3 separate regions of the Homo sapiens genome follow, and all the other regions are linked to region 1. Evidence: promoter capture Hi-C in 16 types of primary human blood cells and fetal thymus (Javierre and others, 2016). All regions are on one chromosome and are shown on one strand. The core of a region is centred on a gene start or on the middle of the fragment in contact, and the rest is flanking DNA. Distances in the headings are between cores, read along the strand shown.

The links. Contacts are between HindIII fragments. The CHiCAGO score rates a contact against its expected background, and 5 or more counts as called.
Region 2: a fragment that was not itself captured here is called in contact with the fragment with the promoter of THOC7-AS1 in region 1 in 11 of 17 cell types (total B cells, monocytes, activated CD4 T cells and 8 more); the score reaches 9.0 in total B cells.
Region 3: a contact is called between a fragment that was not itself captured here and the fragment with the promoter of THOC7-AS1 in region 1, in 1 of 17 cell types (neutrophils). The highest score is 5.0, in neutrophils.

Annotation. Positions count from the first base shown.
Region 1 is chr3:63,858,511-63,862,150 of GRCh38, forward strand. THOC7-AS1 (THOC7 antisense RNA 1) reads left to right here and starts at 2,135. Exons shown (of 2, transcript NR_104326.1): 1 at 2,135-2,486; 2 at 2,989-3,309. All of the region lies in intron 1 of THOC7 (THO complex subunit 7), which reads right to left. The HindIII fragment of the contact is 14,056 bases long and covers 1-3,640 here.
Region 2 is chr3:64,033,082-64,036,228 of GRCh38, forward strand. No RefSeq gene overlaps it. Among named protein-coding and RNA genes, the nearest start is that of PSMD6, 11 kb to the left of the region's middle. The HindIII fragment of the contact is 3,820 bases long and covers 1-3,147 here.
Region 3 is chr3:64,049,994-64,053,625 of GRCh38, forward strand. No RefSeq gene overlaps it. Among named protein-coding and RNA genes, the nearest start is that of PRICKLE2-AS1, 16 kb to the right of the region's middle. The HindIII fragment of the contact is 3,920 bases long and covers 1-3,622 here.

The DNA.
Region 1 (3,640 bases), core at 885-3,384:
AGAGCCACATTCCACCCCAACCCCTTTCTCCATCTCTCATCTGTTGCTCTGGCATATCAATATATCACCTAATGTTCTCTGTAGTGCAAAAAGTGCTTCTGAAATGATTTCTATCAGGGTACTAACAATATTTAGCATCCTTTAAATTAACACATACAAAATACAGTTAACATAGTTTAAATTAACAGTGACAACATCCACACTGTTTTTCAGCTAGCCAGACTGCTAGAGTTGGCAACAAGGGAAGGAGAGAAAATGGCTTTGTCACAAACTACCTGTGTGACTGCAAGTCACTAACTTCCAAAGACCTCTACTTTTTCACTTATAACATGACAGTAGTGGTGAAAATATCCAGTCTAGTAGCTATAGCTACTCTAAAGCAGGGCAGTTCCTCAAACTGAGTGCAGGAAATAAAGGGCTGCTTCTTCAAGAGCTCCCAGTCCAACTGGATACGCAGACCCAGAGGAATGGATTACATGAAGGGACAGTGATACAGGCACATCAAATTTGTAAAAGACATTGGCTCTTATGTAAGCTCCATGGACAGGTACTGGTACTCCTCCAAGAGCTTTCCAGGAGGATGAATGAGATATCAAGAGCATCCACTTCTATCTTCCACACTAACATCGCTCTAATCCAAGCCCACATTTCTCTCATCTGGAATATTTTGCATTGGACTCCCTGTTTCCATTCTTGCCTTCCTAGAATCCATTTTTTATGCAACTCAGAATGATCTAAAAGATGAATTGGATCACTAACTCTCCTGCTTACAATCCTCCTATCATTTCTAAATGCCCACAAAGGACAATTCAGTCTCCTTTCCAAAGCCTGCAAGGCTCCTCCTGAGCTCCCTTTTACCTCCTTTTGCATCGTACTCCTCTTGGCCCACCTGGATGCAGTCCTGTCCCTAGATCCAGCCCAGTGGCTTTCCTTATTTCCTCTAAAGGGTGCAGAGCTTGTTTTCACCTCGGGCCTTTGCACTAGTTGTTGTCTCTATCTGGAATACTTTCCTGGGCTCTTCATGTGGTTGAACCTGTCAGGTATCACTGCCCTCCCCCATTACTCTCTGTCCTCATTCCATCAAGTTCATTCTCAGAACTTAATTACATTCCTTTTCAGAAATTATCTTATTTACTTATTTGATTGCACACTATGGCTTCTTTCCCCAAAGCAGGGGCCAGGGCCCTCCTCTGTCTAGTTCACTGCAAAGTAGCCAGGACCTCGCATTGTGCCTAGAAGGTATGCAATAAATACTTGTTGACGGATCACACATACCACTCATTTCAGCTTGATTTTTTCAAAAGCTCAGCTGACAAAAACCATGTTTATAGAGGATTGTCTGAAGAAGTTGTAGTTTGTCTTTCCTCTATGGTCTAGATATTCAATCAAAAAACCCTGATTTGAATCAAGCCAGATCAGCAGAGCTACCCACTACCCACCTAAACCACATTGTCCATTGATTTTATTTATTTATTTTTAGACAGGGTCTAGCACTGTTGACAGGCTGGAGTGCAGTGGTGCAATCATGGCTCGTTGCAACCTCAAACTCCTGGGCTCAAGTGATCCTCCTGCCTCAGCCTCCTGAGTAGCTGGGACTACCTACAGGTGTGTTCCACTCCACCTGGCTAATTTAAGAAAATTTTTAGTAGAGATGAGTAGCTGAGACTACAGGTGCACACCACCACACACGCCTGGCTAATTTGAAAAATTCTGTAGTATAGATCATGTCTTGCTGTGTTGCTTAGGATGGTCGCAAACTCCTGGGCTCACGTGATCCTCCTGCCTTAGCATCCCAAAGTGCTAAGATTGATTACAGGTGTGAGCTACCACACCCAGCCTCTACTGGCTTTAGAATGTCTTTCTAAATTGTGATTTAGCCTTCTTTTACCTAGCAAGGGATGTGCTACAAAACAGCTCTATGATCTTCAGTGCTGAAAAGAGGTTAAGGATATGACACTGGCTTTCATTTATAAAGACCTCAATGATAAACTTTTCCTCTAGTTCAAATCAGAAAAAAAAAGTGCTTTTCCTGGGCATCTAAGATTGCCTTCTCTCATGAACACTAGATCACAGAGCAGACGAGGTCCTGCCTCTCAGAATGGCCTACTGGAGAAACAGGTCACTTACAGCTTGGTTAATTAATGTACTAGACTTTATCCTCCTGCATTTTGAGGATCACCCCACTTCTGACTTCCCTTTATTTTTCCTAATCTCAATGTTCTTTTTGTCTTGTTTTCTAATCCGTTTAATTTTTATATTTTCTCATTACAGTGAACTGCCTTAAATGTTTTCTAGCATAAGGCATATAAATAACGTATTAAGGGTGACAGCAGCAATATGCATAAAATAATATGGCTAGTAGGCAGAAGGTCAACTACTTCTAGGAAAGAAAAGAGGGGATTTTTGAGGTGGGTCTTGAGGAATAAGTGGAGTGTCACCTGATAGAAAAGGCAGGAAAAGGCAACCTGTGCAGATTAAGAGAGAAGGCAAAGTCCACATCAAAGGAAAGTGGAAGACAGATTAGTAAAACAACTCTGACATTAATATTTACTGAATATTAATTATTATGTGTTGGACTCAATGCAAAGCCCTTTACAACTTTTTGTGTTTAATCCTCAAAACAATCCGCTGATGTGGATTTTATTATTATCTCCGTTCAGAGACTGAAGCTGAGACAGTCTGTAAGTGGCAGGGTAGAGATTCCTGTGGCTTTTAAGGATGTGGGGGGGCACTTGACTGCAGTCATTACTTTAGAACTCATCTTCTGTCCCTATCTCCCATCTGACAAAGCCTGTTGCTCCTTTGGACATCTCAATCTCAATAAATAGAAAAGTAGCACTAACAGGCACACAGTGAAGTCAAAAACCTGGGATCATCCTAAATCCCTTCTCCCACCATCCATTCAATACCTGAAGTCCTGACATTCTACCTCACAAATTTCCCTATTTCCCTCCCACCTGTCCTCTTTGCATTCCCTCTTGGTCACAGTCCTCATTGTCTCTCACCAGGGCCACTGCAGAAGTAGCAGACACAGGACGCATAATAGTGAAGAGCAGGAACTCGGCAGGTGGTCTCCCTGCCTTTGACCCTCTATAACTACTATCTGTGCGACCTTAGGCAAGCTAACCTGTGTCTGTTTCATCTGTAAAATGGGGATAACAATTAGAATAATACCTAACAGCACTACGTAAACGTTAGTAAGTGGCGAGGAAACTTAGCTCCTCATTTTCTCTTCCTCTAATCATTCTGCACATAACAGAGACAGTGTGTATGTGTGTGTGTGTTTTTTTTTTTTTTAATGAGACACGGTCTCACTCTGTCACCCAGACTGGAGTGCACTGGCGCGATCTTGGCTCACTGCAGCCTCAACCTCCCAGGCTCAAGTGATCCTTTCTCCTCAGACTCCCAAGTCCTGGGACTACAGGTGTGTGCCACTGTGCCAGACCAATTTTTTTGTATTTGTAGACATGGGGTCTCACTATGTTTTCCAGGCTGGTCTTGAACTTCTGAGCTCAAGAGGTCCGCCTGCCTTGGCCTCCCAAAGTGTTGGGATTACAGGCGTGAGCCACTGTGCCCGGCATGTGTGTGTGTTTTAATGCCAATCTGATTAACACCACACCAGTGTTAAAACTTTTAATGG
Region 2 (3,147 bases), core at 625-3,124, 170 kb after region 1:
ATTGCTGACAACTATTTCTTGAACCTTGCAAGGCTTCCTGCTTCTTCCTTCTGGTCAGTGAAATATTAGAATAAAAATTTCAGAATGTCTCTGGTGGCTTTTATTGCTTTTCCATCACAAGTTTATAGGAACATTCTTTTCTTTCTTCTCAGTGAGCATAGGCTTCCTAAAAGCACACAGAAATAGCAAGACAAGTCTATTTCATGGACTCTGCTTTCTAATCGGATGGTCTCATGTGGAATATTGTCTCTGGAGAGGTCATAAATGGTTGTCACGCCATGTGTTGTGGAGCCTTATCTTCTCCTTTTCAAAAGCAGGCTGCCTAGTAGGTTTCCTAGACCATGAACAAGCCAAATTTTTGCTTGAAATTTTTAATATTCCTCTTTTTTTATTAATAGAGAACAATGATTCCAACACATTCAGCTTTATTTTAGGAAGAAATAATTTAACGCCTAACCCGTTATTTTTATTTATTTATTTAGAGACAGAGTCTTGCTCTGTGGCCCAGGCTGGAGTGCTGTGGTGCAATCTTGGCTCACTGCAATCTCTGCCTCCTGGGTTCAAGCGATTCTCCTGCCTCAGCCTCCTGAGTAGCAGGGATTACAGGCGCCCGCCACCATGCCTGGCTAATTTTTGCATTTTTAGTAGAGACAGAGTTTCACCTTGTTGGTCTAGAACGCCTGACCTCAAGTGATCCACCCACCTCAGCCTCCCAAAATGCTGGGGTTACAGGTGTGAGCTATGGCGCCCAGACTAATTTAGTGCCTAATCTGTTTAAAATGATGTTATAGTTTTTGTACAGCCACTTTGTTGTCACTGAGAGATCTCTCAATTTGAAGAGCTCACATCTGTAGAGGAAAAATTATAAGCAAGCCTTGCTTAACGAATTACGCTCTAAGGGATGAGGGACATTCTGGGCCCATGGCTACCCAAAAGCAACCCTCTTTATCTCCATGCTCAGTTCTGCCTCTGCATCTCCTGAAGTCTTCCTACTGAGGCCTAAGGGAAGTGAGGTTTAGAGGAGACCTTTAGCTCTCTGGAAGCCCAGGTGGAGAAAACTGGTGGAAGTATTTTTTCCCTATAGGCTGGGGAAGTACCTGGAGATGAGGCTTCAGATAGCCTAGGATGAGGACAAGACAGTGGCAGATGCTGGAAAGAATTTGACCTGCAGTCATCCATGACTCTTATGATGAAAGTTGATGTGAATGGTGCCTCCTGGAATTGTGCGTGGTGACACCTGGTTGACATTGTTTTCCCATCCTTCAAACCACTCCTCTCATCCACAAAAGACATATACATACAGCAAAAAACTCATCAGAGTGGCCTAAGACTTCTCAGTTGCAACACTGACAGCTAAACACAATGGAGTCACATCAAAGAGAGAAGGATCAGCAACCTAGGAATCCCATACCCAGCTAAGATATCTTCCATCTATCAGGCTGAAAGACATTTGAAGATAAGCAAATAGAAACTATAGCACCACAAAACCCCTTTCCGAGGAAATAATTAAGACTGAAAACCAACCACAGGTGAACCAGAAGAGGCATCTGAAGATGGAAGAAGATAAACAGAAGAGGTAAAATCACTCAACAGGATGTACAGGGCCATTTTGGAACCACAATACTGACATTTATTAAAACAATGCAACTGACAAAACATTTGCACACCAAACTGTAGAAGCCCAATGCCCCAAGCAAAACTATTACAAATCCAAGGATAACTTGATAAAATTACTATTGTAATCAGGGGCTGCTATATAGTTCCCTTAGCATATGCAGCAGAAAAAAAAGTAGGCAAGAACATAGAGGATTTAAAAATACAATCAGTAAACTAAATGTAACTTGTACTATAGAATGTTACATCCATTGAATAGGAGTATATTTCTCCATTATTTCAAATGTCCAGGAATATCTATAAAAAGTGATCATAAGAAGTGACATAAATCCACAATTAAAACCTTAAAAATTCAAAAGCATTGAGATGTTATAAGACATGATTTTCCAATACACAATCTAACAAAATAAGACATAAGCAATTTTAAAATGGCCAAACATTTTACCCATTTGGAAACTAAAAGGCAGCTGTTGATAATCTTTGGATTAAAGAGAAAATCAAAAGAAAAATCACCAGCTTTCTAGAAAGCAGTGAAAAGGTGTGCACAAAATACAAAGTCCATCAGACACAATGACACCCAGCCTGGAGAAGAGTTTATAGCCTTGAATGCCTTCACTGCCAGTGAACCACCAAAAAGGTGCTAAAGACTTACTTCTATAGTTTTCTAAAAAGAACAACATAGTAAACTCAAAGACACTAAGAAGACGGATGAAAAAAAAATAAAATACAAAGGTAATAAAATAGCATATCTACAGAGAGGAAAAATAAATTCAAATACTGCTTCTTGGCAAAGACCAGTGACATCTACAGATAAGCCCCTTCAAATCCTGATTAAGGAAAGAGTGAGCAAGAGAGATAAAGACGATGAGTGTGAACAAAAATAGGTTACATTAGAAACGTGAAAGGAGAAATAACCATAGATATAGGAGTGATTAAAATCGTTTAAGAGAATATAATAAGCAACTCTATATAATAGTTTTCAAAACTTGGAAGGATGAATTCCTAGTAATATTATAAATTATGAACATTGACCCAAGGAAAAAAGTTTAAAATTCTAAATCATCAAAGACAAAGCTAGAGATACTAATAAAAGATCTATCATACATTTTTAAGAAAAACAGCCATAGATGTTTTGGAGACATTAGAGATATTTGAATATGGACTGTATATTAAATGATATTTGGGGATTACTAATTTTCTTTGCTGTGACAAGTATGACAAAGCCCTTATTTTTAAAACTTGCATATTAAGTATTTAAGGAAGAAATGTCCTGATGACTGCAACTTTCTTCTCCCCCACACCCACATATCCACACACACACACCCAAATATGACAATATCATTATAAAACTATAGTAATCAAAACAGCATAATATTGGTGTAAAGACAAAGTGTTCAATAAAACAGGCTAGAGAGTCCAGAAAGAAATGAAACAGATATAGACAACTGATTTTTGACAAGGTTGCAAAGGCAACGCGTGAAGGATGAGTCACTTTTCAATAAATGGTACTGAAACAAATGGATATCAAAATGG
Region 3 (3,632 bases), core at 413-2,912, 190 kb after region 1:
GGGGAGGAGGTGAGCAAACTCAAGAGATTAGGACAAGAGGGAGGGAGCAGCCCGGGAGGTGGAATGCCAGAAAAGAGGATGGTCGGGGCTCACTGAGATTGGGAAGGGCTGAGCTGAGGCCCACTGCAGGCAACAGAGAAGATAGGGATGAGACTGGAACAACATATCCTTTGGGTTCAGAGGGTTCTTGGAGTCCAGTTCCATCATGGATAAACAAGTACCTGTAATTAGGATTACTGGTGTTATAGGAAACAGTATTAAAAACAACCACTAAAGTTCTTGCCTTTCTTCCCTATTTCAAGTCCTACTAGAGGCATTTAAAAAGCTGGCATATAGTGGATTTCTAACAACCTGGATTACTAACACAACATGCTAGTGTTATATTTGTCAGTATATCTTTTGCTTTAGGTTATTTTCTTTTAATTTTTGTTTCATTAGATAAGTAGAAAGTTATTAAAGAAAACAGAAATTTTAGATATTAAAAAGGAATATGCTAAATTACATGTAATCCTACCAGCTGGTCATAATAAAAGTATTTTTTTTGGTATTAACTAACCTGTCAGACATTATAAATGTTGTATATACACACACATGTGTGTGTTTATATAATACACTTGTTTTATAATGAAACAATCATAACCAGGCATATGGCTATATAACCTGCTTTAATTCATTCATAGCATACCGTTACTGTATTTCCATGCCAGTAATTGTATATAGAGAGAGCTGGGCTCAGTAGCATGAGCCTGTAGTCTCTGTAGTCTCAGTTTCTTGGGAGGCTGAGGCTGGAGGATTGCTTAAGCTCAGGAGTTTGAGTCCAGCCTGGGCAACATAGCAAGACCCCATCTCTTAAAAATAATTATACATACATCCATACATACATACACACCCACACACACACACACAGATGAAAATGATGTATATATACATTTTTGACCTAACAGTTACATGAATGTCCCATGACTTGTTTGAATATTTTACTTTCTTTCTTTTTTTAAGTATTTTACATAATGTAATGTAGCACTAAATATTTTTGGACATTAGTTCTGAGTACTTGTCTGACTATACAGGTAATTCTCAAAAATAGATGAGAAATGTTACTTCTCAGACTGTCTCCTTTGTTGTTTTCAAGATTTTCTCTTCATCCCTACACATCTGTTGACCATAATTTTCTCTTTGGTCAATTTCCTTTTATATAGTCTCACTTGAAAAATGACTACATGAATCTCCCGTGGCAATTCCAAAATTCCAAATAATTTATGTAGATACTCCGTCTTCAAGGAGGGGGAGCATACATTCCTACTCCTTAAATGTGGGCTATGCATAGTGACTTCCTTCCAAGGAGTACGGCATAAAAGGAGGAACAAAAAATGAAAGTAACTTTACGGTGGAGCAACATGACAACACCACCTCATCCAGGTGATCAAGGTCTACATCAACAGCTATAAATCATGTTGATGTTACATACTCCTGATAAGATGTGATGAAAATGACAGTTTACCTCTGTGGCCTTCCCCCCTGCCCCGCCCCCCAGTAACCCAAAACACCAGTCTTATCATGACAAAACACCAGACAGCATTTTAATAGTAGGGCATCCTACAAAACATCTAACCAATACTCTTCTAAACTGTCCAAGTCATTAGAAACAAGGAAAGTCTGAGAAACTATCCCAGCCAAAAGGAGCAAAGGAGACATGACTAACTGTAACCTGGTAGCCTGGATAGAATCCTGGAACAGAAAAGGGACAGCAGGTAAAAACTAAGGTAATCAGAATAAAGTACGGACTCTAGTGAACAACAATTTATCAATATTGGTTCATTGATGGTAACATATGTACCATACTAATGTAGGATATTAATATCAGGGAAACTTGGCATTGGGTATATTAGAACCCTCTGTACTATCTGTTTGACTTTTCTGTGAATCTACAACTATTCTAAAAATAAAGTCTATTAAAAATGAGCTTAAGAGCATCCCAAAGGTGGTTCTTTTCTTGGTGCCGTCTGAATGCGCAAATGTAGACATGTGAACTGGACTTCAGGCTACTGAAGTCAGGCCTAGTCTGGGCCTGTCCTCACTGGTGAGGGTGGGTGTGGGGATGGTCTACAGAGCAGAAGGCAGTCCCCGGCCAGACGGAGAGCTCAATGTGGAGGAGCCACCCTTATTATTTCCTCCTGCTTGAATATGTGTACTCATCCTAGAAGGTGCACATTCTTTCACTCCAGCAATACTAACAACAGTAAGAAGAAAAATTCTCAAAATTGAGTGAAACACCGCCACCACCAACCATATCAAGAAAGAACACACCTGCAACAGCTTTCTCTGCATCGATTTAATTTGCTCTCCAACAAGTTGAGGCCTTCATAGGATGGACAGTCCACCTGCATGACTAACTCTGCTGGAGAAAGCCTTGGACCTGGAACTTGCCCAGAGAGTTAGAAAAGCTGAGAGTGTGACAGCAGGGTGCCACCAAGAATTCACTGTCTTCAAGAAGAGCAAACAGGAGCAATAATGCTATTACCATTGCTAACTGTGTAAAACACATATAAAACACACCAATAACTTAGAAGTTTCTTGTTCACAGGTAACTCAGTTTTTTAAAATATGGGTTACTTGGACTGTTTCTAATAAAATAGCTAATATTTGCTAAGCTGACCACTTGCTACCTGCCAAGCTCTGTTTGAAGCACCTAATATGTATTAATTCATTTAGTCATCACAACTCTATGAAGTGGTTACTATTATTGCTCCCATTTTATAGATGAAGCTGAAAGAGAGGTTAAGTAGCTTTCAAAAGGTCTTACAGAAGGGAGAATTCACATCATAATAATTTGACTCCAGAACCCAAACTCCCAATCTCTATACCATATAATATGTAGCCTTACACACATATATGTGCACATATATACACATTCATATAGGTATATATGCATATATGTTTGTGTGAATGCACGTATCTTTACTATAAAACATTCTAAAACTGGTAAATTCTTTATGATGTAAAGTTCTATTTCAACTGAAACACAGAATAGAAAAATTATTGACTGTTTAAATGTTCAGAACATTTATAGATGATATGTACATAAAACAGAAAAGTAATGATTTGATACTTAGAGATGAATTGGTAAATAAAATGCCATTTTCATATCAGTTTTAGCAGATAAAAGCCTTTGAAGATTGCTTGAATATTACACAGAAGAAAAGAGCTCTCTCTTAGGACAACTGTTGCCAGAGATATAATACTTAAGTACAATTGGAAAATTCTAAATCCCCTTGGAGTTGGAGGGAAGTGGATTTCTGTAATGAGTGCTACTTCCAATTCTCTTGAGAAGAATAATAAAGGCCAGATTGATTTTCCCTTGGAGAGACTGATTAGGCATTTCTTAAACCTCACTCACAGGTAGCTGACCTCTGCCTTGGAATTTTGAATCTGTAGGTCACAGATGTGTCATTTTCATGCATGCTTACATAAGTAACCTGGGAAATAGATGATGCTGGCATTTTGAAGCCTGGTTTTTATTATTATTTTTCAAATAATATATAATTTCAAATAACTTTAAGGTAGGGCAGAATTGTTTATTTCTGCACTAGAGGGAAAGCTCCCTCTCACAATAGCCAAAGGAAGCTTGCGGG